3 separate regions of the Homo sapiens genome follow, and regions 1 and 2 are each linked to region 3. Evidence: promoter capture Hi-C in 16 types of primary human blood cells and fetal thymus (Javierre and others, 2016). All regions are on one chromosome and are shown on one strand. The core of a region is centred on a gene start or on the middle of the fragment in contact, and the rest is flanking DNA. Distances in the headings are between cores, read along the strand shown. Region 1 has its middle 15 kb from the start of BLOC1S6. Region 2 has its middle 23 kb from the start of SLC28A2-AS1. Region 3 holds the start of COXFA4L3 (cytochrome c oxidase associated subunit FA4L3).

Region 1 (3,242 bases), core at 615-3,114, 140 kb after region 3:
GGTATGGGGCAGAGCAGGGAAGGTGACGGTGGGACTGAGGAAAACCAGGACTGATAAAATCCTGCAGTAGTCATTGGCATTCAGGGATTAGTTCTCCTAAGTTTATGATGAGATACAGACAGACTATATTTATCTCTTTATTAAGTAAATTAATTTAAAGTCTATTTTTCTCTCTGGGAGCACATAATAGAGACTTTTCTGAAAACTTAGAGGGAAAAATGACATCTTGAGATATTTAGCTGTTAATAAAAATTAATGCCTTTAAATATACCCTTTCATCTACTACATCAAATAAGCAGTTTTGAAAAAATACTTTAAAATGAAGGTAAGTGAATAATTAATTTTAAAGACAGCACTTTCCTAAGTAAATTCAAAAAATGTTGACAAGAAATTTATAGGAAGTCCAAAGACTAGGGCAATAATTTAGAAATTACTTGATCCACTGGCATTTTTAAACTGAAAAAGGAATCAGAGACTCTGAACTCTTTGTATTATTGACCTCATTACATTATAAGGAAATTGAATTTTTAAAATATCATCTCACCTTTTGGTCTGGAGAATCTTTGGAAATAATTCACATTTAGCAACTGAAACACTTTGAAGAGAACATTTTAAGTAAAAAAAGGACTATTTTGCATAGCTAATGCAAGTACTTATTTTAGCAATTTTAAATGAAGCATGATCTATCTCCTAGCTAATTTAAATAAATCTATCCTAAAAGGAAAGCTGAGTCCTGGAATAATATATGATGCCTATGGTCATTAAAATCACACTTTTTCCATAACATAGAGAATAAAGTAATAATGACTGATGGCTACTTTGATATCTACATGTAAGATTAACAAATGAATTTTGTGAAAACCCCAAAGTGGAAGAAGAATCGCTGTCTTTTGAATAATATTTAAAGTTATTTGAATGAATCATCATTTGTGACTAGTTTTACTAATAGTTCAAAAACACTGATACTATTTCAAATGATTAACACTCAATATTACGGATATTCATTTACTGTCAGATTTGATAATACTAAATAAAAAATAAAAAAGATTCCCCACCTGCCAATAGAAGCAGAACACTGGTATTGGTGATGTTCTCTATCCCTCACAGCTTGATCTTCTAATTTTGCAGGTTTGCAACTTCAGTTGCCAGCTTAACCAGTTGATATTAACCACTAAAAAACTGCCTATTGTATGAAGTTGATTTGTATAAAAGAAATGAATTTTAATAAAACATAGAATTGCCAAGCCCTCCGATATTCATTTAAGTCATTTAGTCCCTCTTATTTCAACAGAGAAGTCTACATAAGAAGCCAAATTAAGGTTGAATGGTTACTTAGGAAACCTAAAGTCTATTTAAGAGATCACATTAAGGTTAGTGAATATATGTATCCAAGGCACTAATAACAGAAATAATACTATTTCTTCTAGCCATAATAAATGCTCGTTTAGTGGGTGCTATTATTTACAATAGTGTCTTGCAGCAGTTTACAAATCCTGTTCATATAATGCGTGCTTGATTCTTACAAGAACTACACCGAGTAATGGGTCTGGTATTATCATTATCATGCCTCTTTTACTGATGAAAAAAACACAGGTTCAGAGAGTAAGTGACTTGACTAAAATCTCATAACTGATATAGTTGACATCTGTTGTTTTGGTTGGGCCAATTTCCTTCCTCTTTTTGGTAATAGGACTCTGATTTTTCCTTTAAGGAACTACCCAGTGCCTTTCTATAACTCCTAGCAGGTCTGTCAGTCAAGGGGCTCTGCCTCTGTCTGTTATGTGTGACCCACACTGACCCATCAGGGTCCACTATATTCCCCTAGATGCAGAGATTGGTATACGGGTGGGCATGTAATCCAAGTATTTGAGTGTTTTTTTTTTTTTTGAGATGGAGTCTTGCTCTGTTGCCCAGGCTGGAGTGCAGTGGTGCAATCTTGGCTCACTGCAACCTCTGCCTCCTGGGTTCAAGCAATTCTCCTACCTCAGCCTCCCGAGTAGCTGGGATTACAGGCATGCGTCACCACACCTGGCTAATTTTTGTATTTTTTGTAAAGACGGGGTTTCACCATGTTGGCCAGGCTGGTCTTGAACTCCTGACCTCAAGTGAGCCACCTGCTTCAGCCTCCCAAAGTGCTGGGATTACAAGTGTGAGCCACTGTGCCTGGCTTTGAGTTTTTTTTTTTTTTTTTTTAAGGGATTGAAATAAATGAATGCTAGGAGCGCACTGACTTCACTTGGGAGATGTAAGGATCATGAAACCCTGGAGCTATTTTCCTATCACATTGAGAGAGCTCCTAGAGTGAATGCTACATAGGAGAAAGCAGAGTGGAGAATCAAAGGGAGAGAGAGGGAGAGATTCCTATTTTGGCTGAGGAGAAGACATAGAAATCCTTGAAGCCAGAGCAGCCCCCGGACTTTCAAGCTCAGTTGATCAAAACTTCCTTTGTTTGTTTAGGAAGGTCTGGACTTCTCTACTTGCTAGTTGGTTAGACAAAAATCTAATACAGCTAATGATTATCTTAGCTGGGCTTGAAACAAATCTTTTGACTTTAGCCCTTTGCTATTTCTTTTCTTGGGATATTTGAGGTGCTGCTTTTCTGGCTGGAAACCTCTGTGGGTGGTGGTGCCTTTGCCCAAGTTCTTGTCCTATGTCCAGGAAGAGTGATGTATGCAGACAAGTGGAGGGTGAGCAAGACGAAGAAGAACTTTACTGAGGGTCAGAACAGCTCAGAGGAGACCCGCGGTGAGCAGGTCCTCTCTGTGGGCAGGTCGTCCCATCGAGTGTGCAGCTCTCAGCAGAGAGGAGGCCTGGAGTGGATGGCTCCTCTCTGCTGACAGGTCATCCCCAAAAATGTTCATCTCTCAGCGGAGATGGTAGTTCCTCTATGCAGCTGGCCATCCTGATGTCTGCCCTGCTCTGGCTGAGTCTGGGGTTTTTATGGTTTTCATTCAGAGTGGGGAAAGTATATGCTGATTGGTCCATGGGCAGCAATAGGTGGGCTCAGGAAAAAGCACCACAAGTTCCCCCTCTGGTGGGCAGGACTGGTAGGACCTTCCCTGGCCTGAAAGTGGAGCTTCACTGGGGACCCACCCCCTTCCTCCCAGGAGCCTGTCTGCCTCTCACGGCCATTCATTGGCACCCAGGATGTTTGTGCCAAGAGGTGCCTGCAGGCCAGTGTTGAGCTACGTGCAGTCCCCCTCGGCTTCCCTCCCATGATCCTCATCACCCAAAGTCTGGAG
Region 2 (3,245 bases), core at 283-2,782, 130 kb before region 3:
TAAATCTACTTCCCCATCTTAAGCTCATCCCCTCTGGCTGGTCCAATAGAGTACTTTAGTTTCAAGAAAAATTTATATTTTGAGCTTCCCTGCTAAACTAGGAGTTAAAGAATGCTGACCTTAAAGCCTTGGCTGTAGCAGTAGATTTTGCCATGACTGTTGTGGAATAGGCTACTAGGCAGGGATGGGAAGAATTTGGGATGTAAAGCTGGAAATTACTGGGATATCAATGGCTGGCACTTCTGGGTTTTATGTCTTGTATTCCCTACTACTCAAGGCCCCCAATCTTCAGTCTATGTTAGGCATTCACTGTCTTCCTTCCTATCTCTTAATATAATGTCTTTCCTGTAGGTCCTGATCCTTAGGATGATTTTTCTCTTCTAGTCTATGCTGTATCCATTTCAAGCCAAGATATCACTTTTAACTTTCTAGGTTCTCAGGAAAGCAGGCTTCTTCCCTATCTCTATTTTGTCTAGGTTTCCTGCCCTTTAGCATCGCAGTGAAATTTTTAAAATAACAGTTACGAGTTTCATCTATTCAGTCAGCATTCCCAGAGTACTGCTCACAAAAAATTTTTTGATTTGCTTTTTTTGTGATTGTGTATACTCTATCTTTTTTACTTGTTAGTGTCCATATCCATTTTTATTTTCAGGGTGAAATTCTCAGTGTTATACACCCTTGTTTTGTTTTGGCTTTGTATTTGAATTTGCTTCACTCTATTTTTCTCTACTTTTAAGGCTTTAAAAAAATAGGTCCTTCGGCATTTTCTTCACTCTTTTTTTTTTAATTGACATGACATTCGTAGCATAATATTAATCATTTTATTTTTTGAGGCAAGGTCTCTCTCTGTCACTCAGGCTGGAGTGTAGTGGGGCCATAGCTCATTATAGCCTCAACATCCCAGGCTCAAGCAATCCTCCTGCCTCAGCCCTAGAGTAGCTGGTACCACAGTTGTGTGCCACTATGTGCTAACTTTTGTATTTTCTGTAGAGACAGGGTTTCGCCACATTGCCCAGGCTGGTCTTGGACTCCTGAGCTCAAGGGATCCTCCCATCTTGGCTTCCCAAAGTGCTGGGATTGTAGACATGAGCCACCGCACCCGGCCATATTAATCATTTTAAAGTATACAATTCAGTGGCGTTTAGAACACTCACAATGTGTACCACCTCTATATAGTTTCAAAACATTTTCATTAGCCCAAAGGACAACGCTTTACCCATTAAGCAGTCACTCCTCATTCTACCCTCTTTTAGCCCCTGGAACAACTAATCTGCTTTCTATCTGTACAGATTTTTCTATTCTGAATATTACATATAAATGAAACCCACATATGACCTTTGTGTCTGATTTATTCTACTTAGCATAATGTTTTCAAGGTACCTGCATGTTGTAGCATGTATCAGTCCTTTGTTCCTTTTTATGGCTGAATAATATTCTATTATATGCATATGTCACATTTTATTTATTCATTCATTCTTTTATGGACATGTGGTTTGTTCCCATCTTTTGGCTATTGTGAATAGTGTTGCTGTGAACATTCATGTACACGTATTTGTTTAAGTATCTGTTGTCAATTCTTTGCAGTATATACCTTGAAGTACAATTGCTGGGTCATAGGGTAATTCCCTGTTTGATTTTTTGAGAAACCACCAAACGGTTTTTAACAATGGTTGCACCATTTTATATTCCATCAGCAATGTACAAGAGTTCCAATTTCTCTAATTCCTTAGCAATACTTACTGTTTTCTTTTTGTTGTTGTTGTTGTTGTTGTTTGGTTTTGGTTTTCTAATTATAGCAATCCTAGTGGGTTTGAAGTGGTATCTCATTGTGGTTTTGATTTACATTTCCCTAATGACGAATGACATTGAGCATCTTTTTATGTGGTTGTTGCTCACTGGTATATCTTCTTTGAAGAAATATCTACTTAAGCACTCTGCCCATTTTTAAACTGAGTTGCTTGTTTTTTTCTGTTGAGCTGTAAGAGTTTTAAAAAATATATTTTTGATACCAGGCACTTAGCAAATATATGAGTTGCAAATGTCCCATTCTTTAGGTTGTCTTTTCACTTTCTTGGTAATGTCCTGACATAAAAGTTTTAAATTTGGACACAGTCCATTTTACCTATTTTTTTCTCTTATTGCTTGTGCTTTTGGTGCCATATCTAAGAATTCATTGCCAAATCCAAACTGATAAAAATTTACCTTGATCCTTTTTTCTAAGAGTTTAGTAGTTTTTGTTTCTACATTTAGGTTTTTTTTTTTTTTTTTTGAGGCAGAGTCTCGCTCTGGCTCTGTTGCCCAGGATAGAGCATGATGGCGTGATCTCAGCTCACTGCAGCCTCTCTGCTTCCTGGGTTCAAGCTATTCTCCTGCCTCAGCCTCCCAAGTAGCTGGGATTACAGGCATTCACCAGCATGCCGGCTAATTTTTGTATTTTTAGTAGAGACAGGGTTTCACCATGTTGGCCAGGCTGGTCTTGAACTCCTGACCTCAGGTGATCCACCTGCCTCAGCCTCCCAAAGTGCTGGGATTTACAGATGTGAGCCACCACATCCAGTCTTTTTTTTTTTTTTTTTTGATCCATTTTGAGTTACTTTTGATCCATTTTGAGTTACTTTTTGTATATGGTGTGAGGTAGGGGTCCAAAAAGTGTCATTCTTTTGGATGTGGATATCCAGTTTTCCCAGAACCATTTGTTGAAAAGATTACTTCTTCCCCATCAAATGGTCTTGTCACCCTTGTTGAAAATCAATTGTCCATAGATGTATGGGTTTACTTCTGGTCTCTCAATTCTATTCCATTGATGTTTATCTCTGTCCTTATGCCAATACCTCACACTGTTTTGATCACTGTAGCTATGTAGTAAGTTTTGAAATTGGAAACTATGAGTCTTCCAACTTTGTTATTTTTTTGATATTATTTTAGATAATCAGGGCCCCTTGCAATTCCCTATGAATTTGAGAGGATCTACTTTTCCATTTCTGCAAGAAAAAAAAAGGCATTGGAATTTTTATAGGAATTGCATTGAATATGTAGATCACTTTGGGTAGCATTGCTGTCTTAACAATATTAAATATTCCAATTTCCAATAGATGAATATGAGATATCTTTTCATTTATTGATGTCTTCTTAACTTTCTTCCAGCAATGTATTGTAGTTTTCAATGCACAAGGCTTTCACCTCCTTAGTTAAATTTATTCCTAGATATTTTATTCTTTTGGATGCTATTATAAATGAGACTGTTT
Region 3 (3,357 bases), core at 4-2,503:
TTGGGCACCAGACAGACCTGCGTTCTGATGGCATCGCCGCCACTTACCAGTGACGTGACCAGAGCCTCTCTGAGTCTTAATAAGACTTTGCACCCACCTTGCCGAGGGGAATCTGGCTCAGTGTCTGGCACACACACAGCCCCTGGCTCTGTGAAATTGTTACCATTGCAGCCGCCTGCAAACTGCAAAGTGAGGTTGCTGGCTTAGAGGAGAGTTAGGAGGGAACCCAAAGACTAAACCAGCCGGCAGGGTCGTTTGCAGAAAGACCTTCTCCTGACAGCCTCCCCAGCTTATTCTTTTGTTTGTTCTCCCTCGACCTCGGGTTTTTGTTTTATTGTGTTTATTTGTTTGTTTTTGTTTTTTTGGGTTTTTTTTTTAGCAGAAAAAGTCAGGACGCCCTGGGAGTTATTCTGAAATAAACTTTACAATTTAATTTTAATGATCTCCATAGGTGCACAGACCACATTTTGGAGCTTTTAATGTGATTGGATTAATTCTAATTTACCCGCCTGCACCTGGGAGCCTCTCCTGGGACCCTCCGGTCTGCAGCTCATTTTTCCGGACCCCCTTTTATTGTTTATTTGCTTATTTAAATATTTTGTTTTATTCTATTTTATTTAAAACAGGGTCTCGCTCTGTTGCCCAGGCTGGAATACAGTGGTGTAATCTTGGCTCACTGCGACCTCAAAGGCCTGGACTCAAGCGATTCTCCTGCCTCGCCCTCCTCAGTAGCTGGGACTGCAGGCATGCAGCACCACGCCCGCTAATTTTTTTTAGTAGAGACGTGGTTTCGTCACGTTGGCCAGGCTGGACTCGAGTGATCCTCCTGCCTCAGCCTCCCAAAGTGTTGGGATTACAGTCCTAAGCCACCGCGCCAGGCCCGGATACCCTTTTAGAAGGGTTGGCTTTCCCTCAGGCCTCGGCTATCTGCGCTCCCCTCTTAGGGGGTTCCACCTCCTACTCCCCAAACCTCCAAACTCCTCACAAGCACCTAGGGGGGCCAAGAGCGACCGGGGTCGGCAGGTAAGGAAGACCGCGGCGAGCGGCAGGGGGCGCCAGCGCCCGCGTTCGGGCGCTTCACGTCAGCCGCAGAATGTCCTGCAGGGGGCGCCCGGGAGTCGCGTGCCCAACGGGGAAAGCGAGTCAGGTCCCTCGCGCTCCCCGCCCCACGCGCGTGACCAGAGCGCGCTGGCCCGGCCCACCCGGGGCGGTTGTGGTCGCTATATATAAGGTGGGGAGGCCGCCGGCCCGTTCGGTTCCGGGCGTTACCATCGTCCGTGCGCACCGCCCGGCGTCCAGGTGAGTCTCCCATCTGCAGAGACGCGGACGCGCCGGCCCGCAGTTGGCCTGCGGAGCGCGGTGGACGGTTTGGCGCCCACCAGGCGATCAATACTTTGGATTTTTAATTTCTAGATTTGGCAATTCTTCGCTGAAGTCATCATGAGCTTTTTCCAACTCCTGATGAAAAGGAAGGAAGTAAGTTTTAAAAACAATTGAAAATCTTGACTAAAGTTTTCATTTTTAAAGATGAAAAGATGGCACAGATTTTGAACAAAGTATAAAATAAATACAGTTGTTTTGCTGTGTTTCAAATGTTTCATATTGAAGTGTCCAAATGTGTCCCCTCCACCTGTTATTTGTTAGCTCATTCCCTTGGTGGTGTTCATGACTGTGGCGGCGGGTGGAGCCTCATCTTTCGCTGTGTATTCTCTTTGGAAAACCGATGTGATGTAAGTAGGTCTCAATTTATAAAAACGTTTTTGGCAGTGTTTGGATGACTTTTAGTTTATGAAATGTATAAGTTTCCTATTTTTTTCCCATGGATGAGAATGCCAAATTGTGAACTGGGAGTCAGGGTTAAAAAGCATCTTTTATCAGAAAACTCTTATGATATTGTCTACCAATGGGTCAGAAAATGAAAATTAGAAAAAAAAAAGAAAAAATTTAAAAAAACCCATGATATTAATCAAATTAGTTTATTTCTTGTGTTTATTCTTTTACCCATTGGCCCTTCTCCACTCTCTGGCAGTGAAGTAAAGCTTGTTTTTTTTTTTTTAAGTTTTGAAATTTAAAGTTCTTCAGTGGTTTTGGGAGATATATATCATGAAACAATCATTTTAATTAAAATTTTAAATTTTAGCTTATTAGATTTTTACTAATGTGGTAGAATTGATAGATTCAGTTGTCTACGATGAACCTAATCTCAACTTTGGGTAGAAGAAAGTAAAAAACAAAAACATGTATCCTGGAATATGAGGAAAAGATAAACTTGAAACTGTTGGAGGCTGGTGCAGGGCTGGAGAGGGCAGTCCTCTAACCGCTGGCAGAGGAGCCTAGAGCCCTGGAGTTCACCACCTGCAGAGTTCAACCTGCCCCTCCCACAGACTGAGATAAGAACATTATTGCATGTCCTTGGCTTGGCAGTTTCACTCCCATGGTTATTTGGTTTGTGGGATCCTTCCCCAATGCAGCCCAATCAAGAGAATACAGACCTCCTACCCTTTAGGGGAACTGATGTTTAATGTTTGAGCCACACCATGAAACTCCCTTAGAGAATTTTCAATCAATTTTAGTTGCTACTGATGGTTCCTGATCATTAGCAGACACATGCCTTAGTATGAGACTGGTTTTGTCCCTAACATGTTTATAAACCCAGTATCAGTGTTGGTTTAAATTCACATCTTTTAATGTTTAATTGGCTTTCTTTAATTTTAGCCTTGATCGAAAAAAAAATCCAGAACCTTGGGAAACTGTGGACCCTACTGTACCTCAAAAGGTATTGTTAAATTAAAAACAAATGATTTATATTTTGCCCAAACCTTAGCACCTTTGTGAGCAAAATAGATTTAGTACCTTACCCTTATTGTGTAACTTAGATCAATTGTGCCTTCATCGAGTAATTAAAATGAGGAAATTTTAAGAGCCTACTCTATGCCAGGAGCATTGTCCATCCACTCATGAGAAGCATATACACTTTTGGAACTATGGCTCACATAATACCTGGCAAACTTAAAAATCTGGATACCGGCCAGGCACGGTGTCTCACACCTGTAATGCCAACACTTTGGGAGGCCGAGGCGGGTGGATCACTTGAAGTCAGGAGTTCGAGACCAGCTTGGCCAACATGGTGAAATTCCATCTTTACTAAAAATACAAAAATTAGCTGGGTGTAGTAGAACGCACCTGTAAACCCAGCTACTGGAGAGGCTGAGGCACGAAAATTGCTTGAACATGGGAGGCGGAGGCTGCAGTGAGTTGCAGTTGTGCCACTGCACTCCAGCCTGGGCAACACAGCAAGACTGTCTTAAAAAAAAATCTGGATACTGCTAAGTGAAAGTAGGGCACATGTGTTTGATC

Evidence for each region. Contacts are between HindIII fragments. The CHiCAGO score rates a contact against its expected background, and 5 or more counts as called.
Region 1: a contact is called between a fragment that was not itself captured here and the fragment with the promoter of COXFA4L3 in region 3, in 16 of 17 cell types (M2 macrophages, M0 macrophages, monocytes and 13 more). The highest score is 22.2, in M2 macrophages.
Region 2: a contact is called between a fragment that was not itself captured here and the fragment with the promoter of COXFA4L3 in region 3, in 4 of 17 cell types (M2 macrophages, M0 macrophages, naive B cells and 1 more). The highest score is 8.2, in M2 macrophages.

What each region holds. Positions count from the first base shown.
Region 1 is chr15:45,571,160-45,574,401 of GRCh38, forward strand. No RefSeq gene overlaps it. Among named protein-coding and RNA genes, the nearest start is that of BLOC1S6, 15 kb to the right of the region's middle. The HindIII fragment of the contact is 5,703 bases long and covers 1-3,242 here.
Region 2 is chr15:45,300,782-45,304,026 of GRCh38, forward strand. No RefSeq gene overlaps it. Among named protein-coding and RNA genes, the nearest start is that of SLC28A2-AS1, 23 kb to the left of the region's middle. The HindIII fragment of the contact is 3,550 bases long and covers 1-3,245 here.
Region 3 is chr15:45,429,357-45,432,713 of GRCh38, forward strand. COXFA4L3 (cytochrome c oxidase associated subunit FA4L3) reads left to right here and starts at 1,254. Exons shown (of 5, transcript NM_197955.3): 1 at 1,254-1,299; 2 at 1,414-1,476; 3 at 1,645-1,730; 4 at 2,716-2,776. The coding sequence starts at 1,441. RefSeq lists a silencer at 1,197-1,276. The HindIII fragment of the contact is 4,531 bases long and covers 1-2,037 here.